Regions from separate parts of the Homo sapiens genome. Here region 2 is linked to region 1. The links are contacts of gene promoters, found by promoter capture Hi-C in human tissues and cell types (Jung and others, 2019). All regions are on one chromosome and are shown on one strand. Each heading gives the region's core, a stretch centred on a gene start or on the middle of the fragment in contact. The rest is flanking DNA. Distances are from core to core; before and after follow the strand shown. Region 1 holds the start of PCDHB2 (protocadherin beta 2). Region 2 overlaps PCDHGA1 (protocadherin gamma subfamily A, 1).

Region 1 (5,402 bases), core at 2,516-5,015:
GGGCAGAAGGCATTGAAAGGCTGAAGATCCCTCTCTATTGAAAGAGGGATACTAGTGGGGATAATATCTCCATATCATTTGGCATTATCTTTGATAGGAAAATGGTCATGTAAATCCCTTTGACTACCCTTTCTCCTAATTCTTGTAATTTTCATCTCATGGCAGTCAAAAGATCAAATCACCCTTTAGTCCAAAAAAGAGAGAGGCAAGCTTAATTATGACAGATACTCAAACAATGTGTTCTTATTTAGTTTTTGAATGGCTGTACTTTTGTAATAAGACTGTAATGACTTGCTTTCATTTTTGGTATGTTTTTGAAAATATTTTTCTATTCCTGTATATGAAATTATTTGTGTAACATTTTAATATGTTAGATTTTATTAAATGAATCTTCAAAATTATGAAAGTGACTCCTAGGATAATGTCTCTGCTTGTGCAGCATATGAAAAGTAAAGCGAAACCTAAGAAATTAAACCTACTGTAATAACATAATTTTTAAATTATGCAATAGATTCCCCTCATTATAATATAAATAATTACTATATGTAAACATATTTCATTCAGACTTATAAATATGCTATAAATTATAATCTAATATATATGATTCCTTATTAAAGGAGATTAAGAAAATAAGAGCATTTGTAAAGAAGGAAGGTGTATTCTCATCAAGGTTTAAGAAAATAAATGATTTAAAATAGCATAGCGGATATAATGCATTTAAAGCTGGAAACCTATATACGAATATAAAATATTGGTGTTGGTTATATAATCTTTGAAAAAGAGAAACTTACTTCTATTTCTAGGTGTGTTAATAGCATTGAAATGAAAGATGGGTAAAACCTTCTGAATTGTGAGGACACATGACAACATGAGAGGTTTTAAAATTTTTTTCACAATAAAACCTAATGTGTTCTTGGTTATTGTATCCTCTGAAATATCTTAGATATTAAGTTTTCTATTCTCCAGCTTGTGAGAAGAGATTATGTTATTTTCTTCATATTACCTATTTTCCTCTCCTTTATGTTATCCCAAATTAACCATAACTGCTTTAGTTCAGAAAACCTGTCCAAAGGAAATAGCCATATACCTGGTTAAATATAAAATTTCGAGTAACCTACCAGTTATAATTTGCCTGTATGATATAACTGATCTTCACTACATCTATTTCGGACCCTAATCAGGTTTTGCAGATTATATAAAAAGCTGTTTTTAAAGACTTGGACCTTGGGTGTTATTCACCTCAATGAATTTGTTTAATGCTCAATGTCAATGAATTAACATATTTTGAATTATTATAACATCCATATAAAAGTAATAATCATGGAAAGCAAAAAATAATATCAACAGGTAGAGATAGGCATTTGTTTTCTAAATGTTAAGAAAAGGAACCTGTGATTATCCTTTTTTTAGCCAGTTACAAGATGATAAATGAGAGCTTTTTAAAATATTATGCTATTGTTACATTTAATAAATCATCCAGTCCAGTTTTCTGAAAATACAGGGGATAGAAGAACAGGTTAAATGATACCATGAGGAAACAATCAAATTTGGAATGTAGGACATCCTACAAAACAACTAGTCTGGACACTTCAGAAATCTAATGTCATTAAAGATGGGGGAGTATTCTAGAGTAAATAGATCTAATAGCCAAATACAATTATCAAAGTTGGTTGAAAAAGTTTCTAAGACATTCCTTATAACAAATAGTTAAAAAAGTAAGTGCATTTGTCAAAGGAACTTGAGTGAGTGTGAATTCTTATCAAAATTGAGGAAAAGATAATGGAAAGACAGTGAAATTTGATTGGGGCTGGATTTTAGATAACTGTAGAATTTTTTTAAATTTTCTTAGGTATGATAGAACCATTATGATTATATGAGATAATATTATAATTATGTGATACCTGCTGAAATATTTAGAGGTGAAATATGATGTCTGCAAGTTACTTTCATATAAGTCATCAGAAAAGCGGGTGTGTGTACAGAATAAGATAGAACAAATATGGTAAAATATAAACAATTGTTAAGTTTGGATGGAGGTTAGAGTTGTAGTTTATGTATAGTTCTTTTAACTGTTCTATATATTTAATTTTTTTCTTCATCCCCCAATTTTTTAACCCAATGGATCTTTTAGAGACACATCCTAATATTTATTATTATTATTATTATTTTGAGATGGAGTCTCGCTTTGTCACCAGGCTTGGAGTGCAATGGCATGATCTCAGCTCACTGCAATCTCCGCCTCCCGGGTTCAAGTGATTCTCCTGCCTCACCCTCCCAAGTAGCTGGGATTACAGGCACCCATCACCATGCCTGGCTCATTTTTTTTGTATTTTTAGTAGAGATGGGGTTTCACCAGGTTGGCCAGGATGGTCTTGATCTCTTGACCTCGTGATCTGCCTGCCTCGGCCTCCCAAAGTAAAATTATTTTTTAAAGCAGCCTTAGAGTTTACAGAAAATTGAGCAAATAGTACAAACAGTTCCCCTCACATACCGATTTTCTCCCACTCAAAGTTTCCCTGTTATCAAAATCTTGCATTACTGTGGTACATTTGTTACAATTGATGAGCCAATACTGGTAAATTATTAACTAAATTTCATAGTTTAGTGTTCACTCTTTGTGTTGTATAGTTCTGTGGATTTTGACAACGGCATAATGTCATGTATCTACCATTGTAGTATCGTAAAGTACCCCATGTTTAACCTCTTCATCCCCCTCCCTCTTCTTCCTAGCTATCACTTGTCTTTTAAATGTCTCTATAATTTGGCCTTTTTCAGAGTATCATGTAATTTGAATTATACAGTATCATTGCCTTTTCAGACTGGATTCTTTCACTGAGAAATATGCATTTAAGTTTCCTTCATGTCATTCTGTGGCTTGATAACTTCTTTATATTAACATTAAAAAAGAAACAAAAAGACAAAATTAAAAAACCTAACAACAAACAATGACATATATACCCTGTTTGGAAGCAGATTGAAGAAACCATCACTGAAAAGACATTTTTAAAGATAATTGGGGAAACTGGAATATTTACTGGCTATTTAATATTATGAAATTGCTCTTTGCTAGATGTGGTAATTGAATTGAGGTTATGTTGAAAGTTCTCCTAGGCATTAGAAAGGAAAATAATATTGATACATTTACAATAAGGAAATATCTGGCTGCTCTTGGAGAGTTTCATGAGGCTCAGACACATCAAAGTTCAGGAAAATGTGAAGTGGGAGCAGTGCAAAGAAAGAAATATGAGTAAGGAGACTATTTCAGTGCCCATTAAAATACTCTTATTTGGATTCTGTGCTTTTCCTGGGTCTCTGTTTTTCAGCTGGGTTTGAGTGTGATGATGGTAATCTAACCACCACTGAGTTGCACACATGCCCAAACTCTGAATAAAAATAGAACTTTCTTAGTCTAAGCCTTCTTTCCGAAGCATGCTAGGACTGAGATCACTCCCTTCCAGGTTCTGAAATTTATTTTTTCCAGTTTGAAAAAAAAAAAAAGCTTGGATTTGTGAGGGAAGTGAAGATTTATTTATTCTTGCCCTGTCTCTATGGGTGCAATGAAGAGCCTTTCGAAACGCCAATAAGACTTCGGTACACTGAGAGACACTACTTGAAAATACTCAATTTCGATTGCCATCAGCCTGAAAGAAAGCACTGGGATTTTCTTAAAGTTTAGGAGAAAATAAATACTCGGAAGAGACGCGGGGTGGCGCTGCAGCCTTAGAAGTAGCAGAAACAAAGCACCCAGCCGACGCTCCCTTACCCAGATACTCAGCTAAAGAAGCAGCAAGCAGGAAGAGGAGGCTTTCTAAGGCGGTCGCTCCGGGAAATCCGGGCCCTAGGATTGTCCACTCATCCCAGTATCAGCGAGATACGGGGAGATAGAGTTAGCGACAACGTGAGCCAGAGCTGGAGCACGTTTGGTGAGAGACCAGAAAGCAATGGAGGCCGGAGAGGGGAAGGAGCGCGTTCCGAAACAAAGGCAAGTCCTGATATTCTTTGTTTTGCTGGGCATAGCTCAGGCTAGTTGCCAGCCTAGGCACTATTCAGTGGCCGAGGAAACGGAGAGTGGCTCCTTTGTGGCCAATTTGTTAAAAGACCTGGGGCTGGAGATAGGAGAACTTGCTGTGAGGGGGGCCAGGGTCGTTTCCAAAGGAAAAAAAATGCATTTGCAGTTCGATAGGCAGACCGGGGATTTGTTGTTAAATGAGAAATTGGACCGGGAGGAGCTGTGCGGCCCCACAGAGCCCTGTGTCCTACCTTTCCAGGTGTTACTAGAAAATCCCTTGCAGTTTTTTCAGGCGGAGCTACGGATTAGGGACGTAAATGATCATTCCCCAGTTTTCCTAGACAAAGAAATACTTTTGAAAATTCCAGAAAGTATCACTCCTGGAACTACTTTCTTAATAGAACGTGCCCAGGACTTGGATGTAGGAACCAACAGTCTCCAAAATTACACAATCAGTCCCAATTTCCACTTTCATCTTAATTTACAAGACAGTCTCGATGGCATAATATTACCACAGCTGGTGCTGAACAGAGCCCTGGATCGCGAGGAGCAGCCTGAGATCAGGTTAACCCTCACAGCGCTAGATGGCGGGAGTCCACCCAGGTCCGGCACGGCCCTGGTACGGATTGAAGTTGTGGACATCAATGACAACGTCCCAGAGTTTGCAAAGCTGCTCTATGAGGTGCAGATCCCGGAGGACAGCCCCGTTGGATCCCAGGTTGCCATCGTCTCTGCCAGGGATTTAGACATTGGAACTAATGGAGAAATATCTTATGCATTTTCCCAAGCATCTGAAGACATTCGCAAAACGTTTCGATTAAGTGCAAAATCGGGAGAACTGCTTTTAAGACAGAAACTGGATTTCGAATCCATCCAGACATACACAGTAAATATTCAGGCGACAGATGGTGGGGGCCTATCTGGAACTTGTGTGGTATTTGTCCAAGTGATGGATTTGAATGACAATCCTCCGGAACTAACTATGTCGACACTTATCAATCAGATCCCAGAAAACTTGCAGGACACCCTCATTGCTGTATTCAGCGTTTCAGATCCTGACTCCGGAGACAACGGAAGGATGGTGTGCTCCATCCAAGATGATCTTCCTTTTTTCTTGAAACCTTCTGTTGAGAACTTTTACACTCTGGTGATAAGCACGGCCCTGGACCGGGAGACCAGATCCGAATACAACATCACCATCACCGTCACCGACTTCGGGACACCCAGGCTGAAAACCGAGCACAACATAACCGTGCTGGTCTCCGACGTCAATGACAACGCCCCCGCCTTCACCCAAACCTCCTACACCCTGTTCGTCCGCGAGAACAACAGCCCCGCCCTGCACATCGGCAGCGTCAGCGCCACAGACAGAGACTCGGGCACCAACGCCCAG
Region 2 (5,402 bases), core at 1,828-4,327, 370 kb after region 1:
TTTTGAGACAGGGTCTTGCTGTGTCACACAGGCTGGAGTGCAGTGGTGTGATCTCAGCTCACTGCAACCTCTGCCTCCCAGGCTCAAGTGATCCTCCCACCTCAGCCTTCCAAGTAGCTGGGACTACAGGCATGCACACCATGCGCAGCTAATTTTTTCTATTTTTTGTGGAGACGGGGTCTCACTATGTTGCTTAGGTTGGTCACAAATTCACAGCCTCAAGCAGTCCTCCTGCCTCACCCTCCCAAAGTGCTGGGATTACAGGCATGAGCCACCACATCCAGCCTTACCAGCTATATTGAAGTATAATTTATATAACATAAAATTTGCCTTTTAAAATTATACAGTGCAATGCATTTTGACAATTGTTTACATCTGTGTAACCACCATGCAATCAAAATATAGAACATTTCTATAACCTTCAAAAGTTCCCTCATGCCCCTTTGCAATCAATTCACTACTTCTCCAGCTCCAGGCAACAACTGGTCTGCTTCCTGTCACTATAAATTAGTGTTGCCTCTTTCAGAATTTCATCTAAATGGAATCCTATAACATATACTATTTTGTATCCATCTTCTTTTACTCCAAAGTTCTTGAAATTCATTCATGTTCCTGTGTGTATCAGCAGCGTGTTCCATTTGATTGTTGAGCAGTATTGCATTGTGTGGATATATCACAATGTGTTCATTCATTCAACTGTTGGTGGACATTTGAGTTGTGTCCAGTTTAGTGCTATTCTGAATTAAAGTGATGTGAACAATCATGTACAAGTATTTTTGTAGGCATATTTTTTTTATTTCTCTTGGATAAATACCCCAAAACAGAATTGTTTTGGGGGTCATATGAAATGGGAAGTATATGCTTAACTTTATAAGAAGCTGCCAAACTATTTTTCAAAATGGTAATATCACTTTACATTTTCATGAGCAATGCATAAAGCGTTCCGCTTGCTACATTTTCTCACCAATGCTTCCTATTGTCAATTTTTTAAATTTTAGCAATTCTAGTGGGTGTGTGATACTATCTCATTGAAGTTTCAACTGTTTTTCCCTGTTGACTAGAGACACTGAGCAACTTTTCATGTGTTGTCTATTTGTATATCTTCTTGAAGCATTCGTTCATCTTTAACTGAGCTGAACGCCTTCTTAAAATTGAGCTATGGGAGTTTTAAAATATATCCTTGTAGCTGGGCGTGATGGCAGGTGCCTGTAATCCCAGCTACTCAGGAGGCTGAGACAGGAGAATCGCTTGAACCCAGGAGGCGGAGGTTGCAGTGAGCCGAGACTGCACCACTGCACTCCAGCCTGGGCAACAGAGTGAGACTTCATCTAAAAAATAATAATTATACATGTAATTATATATGATTTTTATATATGTAATATATATATTCTTGATGTGAGCTCTTTGTCACATACATATTTTGTGGATATTTTATCCCAGACTATGACTTGTCTTTTCATTTTCTTAGTTGTGTCTTTTGAAGAGCAGAAGATGTAATTTTGATAAAGCCCAATTTATTTTTTCTTTTATAGTTTGTATTTCTTATGTCCTATTCAAAAACTCCTTGCCTACTGAAAACTTATGATGATTTTCTCCTATATTTTCTTTTAGAAGTTTTATAGTTTTACCATTTATAATTTGGTCTATGAATCCTTTTGAGTTGATGTTTATGTATGGTGTATGGTGTGAGGTAACAATGAAGATTCATATTTTTTTCCAAAGGAATATCCAATTGTCTCTTTGGAAAAATATGCTGAGAAGGCTATCTTTTCCCCACCAAATAATCTTAGCACCTTAATCAAAAATCATTTGGCCATGGACATATGTAGGTGTGGGTTTTTTCTGGGCTCTCTGTGTTAGATGGATAGATAGACAGATACAGATATATAACTGTGTTTACACATATGTAACTGTAAACACAGTTATATATCTATATATCCACCAACAGTTGAATGAGAATAAACTATTGTTATAAGCATATATACACATTGTATATATATGTGTACATATACATATTGCATATGTATGTATACATATATACACACAAAGTATATATATGTATGTATACATATATACACACTTAAAGTAATGGCCTCCAGTTCGATCCAAGTTGCTGCAAAGGACATTATTTCATGCCTTTTCGTGGCTGAGTAATATTCCATGGTGTATATATATATATGTGTGTGTGTATATATATGTATTATGTATATATATATGTGTGTGTGTGTGTGTGTGTGTATATATATATATGTGTATATATATATACCACATTTTCTTTATCCACTCATTAGTCGATGGGGACTTAGGTTGGTTTCACATTTTTGCAATTGTGAATTGTGCTGCTATAAACATATGTGTCCAAGTGTCTTTTTCATATAATTACTTATTTTCCTTTGGGTAGATACCCAATAGTGGGATTGCTGGATTGAATGGTAGATCTGTTTTTTGCTCTTTAGAGAATCTCCATACTGTTTTCCATAGAGGTTGTACTAATTTATATTCCCAGCAGCAATGTGTAAGTGTTCTCTTTTCCCCACATCCACACCAACATCTATTGTTTTTTGACTTTTTAATAATGGCCATTCTTGCAGGACCAAGGTGGTAGCTCGTTGTGGTTTTAATTTGCATTTTCCTGATGATTAGCGATGTTGAGCATTTTTTCATATGTTTGTGGGCCATTTGTATACCTTCTTTTGAGAAATGGCTATTTGTGTCCTTTGCCTACTTTTTAATGGGATTGTGTTTTATTTTTCTTGGTGATTTGTTAGTTCCTTGTAGATTCTGGATACTAGTCCTTTGTCAGATGTGTACTTTGCAAAGATAATATTTTGGATGTTATATTTCCATTATAATTTAGTTCAAAGTATTTTCTAATACACCTTGCAATTTCTTCTTTGACCCATGGATTATTTTAAAGTTTGTTATTTTGTTTGTTTATTTTGAGACAGAGTTTCACTTTTTTTGCCCAGGCTGGAGTGCAGTGGCACAATCCCGGCTCCCAGATTCAAGCGATTCTCCTGCCTCAGCCTCCCAAGTAGCTGGGATTACAGGTGCCCACCACCACACCCAGCTAATTTTTTTTTCTTTTTTTTTTGAGACAGAGTTTTGCTCTTGTTGCCCAGGCTGGAGTGCAATGGCACGATCTCGGCTCACTGCAACCTCTGCCTCCTGGGTTCCAGCAATTCTCCTGCCTCAACCTCCTGAGTAGCTGGGATTCCAGGCATATGCCACCACGCCAGGCTAATTTTGTATTTTTAATAGAGACGGGGTTTCTTCATGTTGGTCAGGCGGGTCTTGAACTCCCGACCTCAGGTGATCTGCCCGCCTTGGCCTCCCAAAATGCTGGGATTACAGGCATGAGCCACTGCACCCAGTCCAATTTTTTGTATTTTTAGTAGAGATGGGGTTTCATCATGTTGGCCAGGCTGGTCTTGAACTCCTGACCTCAGGTGATCCGCCTGCCTCGGCCTCCCAAAGTGCAGGGATTACAGGTATGAGCCACCATGACCAGCCTAAAGTGTATTGTTTAGTCACCAAATATGTAAGTATTACCCAAATATATTTGTCACTGATTTCTAATTTAATTGTATTGTGATCCAAAAATATACATTGTATAGTTTCTATTCTTTTAAATTCGTTAACATTTCTTTTATGGCACAGAATATGGTCTATCTTGGTGAGTGTTGCTTACACACAACTGTGTAACTGAAAACTGTGTATTCTGCTTCTCGTGGTTGTTGTATCCTATAATTGTCAACTAGATCAAGTTAGTAAGAGTGTTGTTCAGTGATCTTTTCTTCTTCAGTGTTTACTGTATTTGCTAATCCCATCCAGTGAAGTTTCCATTTCATATATTGTATTTTTCACTTTTAGAAGTTCCATTTGACTCTTTCATTTCCATCCTCAATTATCTTCATATTTTTCTTTAAATTTTTGAGCACATTTATAATGGAGGTTTTAAAGTCCTTGTCTGCTAATTTTGTCACCTCTGTAATTCCTATGATGATTTTCTTCCTGGCTTGGGGTCATAATTTGTTGCTTATTTGCATGTCTAATAATGTTTTTATTGGACAGCAGACATTGTAAATGTTATATTTTTGAGTGTTTGGATTTTGTCTTTCTTTAAGAACTATTGCAGTTTGTTTTGGAAGGCTATTATGTTTTTTGCAGATCAGGTTGATCTTTTCAAGGCTTGTTTTTAAGCTTTGTTAGGACAGGTCTGTAGTAACTTTTGCCTTGGGCTAATTTAGACCTACCACTTAATTCTGACTTTTTTGATTAATCTGAGTGTTCAGCAGGGTCTCTTTATTATGGCTAAATGAAATTCAAACATTTTCCAGCCCTATGTGACCATCAAGAATTCAGCTAATAGCTCCCTGGCAGTTCTTCGCCCAGCTGCAGAAAAGTGTCAGTGCACTCTATGTATGCTCAGATTATTATTTAGCCAAAGACTTGGGGATCCATATTAATATTCCTGGAGTTCTTTGTGTAGCTCCATTCTCTTTAGTACTCTATCCCATAAATTCTGGCTGCCTCAATCTCCTAATCTCCCCAAACTCTAATATCTATTCCTCAACTCAGCAAAACCATGGTGTTATTCTTGGATTTCCCCTTTCCTGCCCCACAGTCTGAAAGTTGTCTCCAGGCAAAAAAAATGGAGATCCTAGTTTGCGGATCCTCATTTCCTTCTCCTTTTTTTTTTTTTTTTTTTTTTTTTTTTGAGATGGAGTCTCGCTCTGTCACCCAGGCTGGAGTGACGTGGCGTGATCTCGGCTTACTAGAAACTCCGGCTCCCGGGTTCATGCCATTCTCCTGCCTCAGCCTCCCGAGTAGCTGGGACTACAGGTGCCTGCCACCATGCCCGGCTAATTTTTTGTATTTTGTTTAGTAGAGACGGGGTTTCACCGTGTTAGCCAGGATGGTCTGGATGACCTCGTGATCTGCTCACCTCGGCCTCCAAAAGTGCTGGGATTACAGGCATGAGCCACCGCGCCCGGCCTGCTTCTCTTCTCTTATGGGTTAGAATCCTGCACTGTCTTTTGAACAAATGTCTAAAAGCTTTTATCACACATTTTGATCCACTTCCCAGTTGTTATAGTGGTATATCTGGTTTCACATGACTGAAAGGAAAAGTTTTCACCTTGCTTTTTGTACTAATAATATATCCTGGAAATCATTCTATATAAATTTATAGAAATCTTCATTTTTAAAATAGCTTCATAAAACTCCATTGTAAAAACCAGGTGCAGTGGCTCATGCTTGTAATCCCACACTTTGGGAGGCCAAGGCGGGTGGATCACCTGAGGTCAGGAGTTCAAGGCCAGCCTGGCCAACATGGTGAAACTCCGTCTCTACTAAAAATACAAAAATTAGCTGGGTGTGGTGGTGGGCGCCTGTAGTCC

What was found. Contacts are between HindIII fragments. The study calls those that stand out against the background at their distance.
Region 2: a contact is called between a fragment that was not itself captured here and the fragment with the promoter of PCDHB2 in region 1, in 1 of the 25 tissues and cell types used here (H1 embryonic stem cells).

What each region holds. Positions count from the first base shown.
Region 1 is chr5:141,090,850-141,096,251 of GRCh38, forward strand. It overlaps PCDHB2 (protocadherin beta 2), which reads left to right and starts at 3,766. Exons shown (of 1, transcript NM_018936.4): 1 at 3,766-5,402. The coding sequence starts at 3,942. It also overlaps PCDHB@. The HindIII fragment of the contact is 14,626 bases long and covers 1,856-5,402 here.
Region 2 is chr5:141,458,747-141,464,148 of GRCh38, forward strand. The region is part of intron 1 of PCDHGA1 (protocadherin gamma subfamily A, 1); the gene reads left to right. All of the region lies in intron 1 of PCDHGA2 (protocadherin gamma subfamily A, 2), which reads left to right. All of the region lies in intron 1 of PCDHGA3 (protocadherin gamma subfamily A, 3), which reads left to right. All of the region lies in intron 1 of PCDHGB1 (protocadherin gamma subfamily B, 1), which reads left to right. It also overlaps PCDHGA4, PCDHGB2, PCDHGA5, PCDHGB3, PCDHGA6 and PCDHGA7, and 10 more genes. Among named protein-coding and RNA genes, the nearest start is that of PCDHGC3, 15 kb to the right of the region's middle. The HindIII fragment of the contact is 8,589 bases long and covers 1-5,402 here.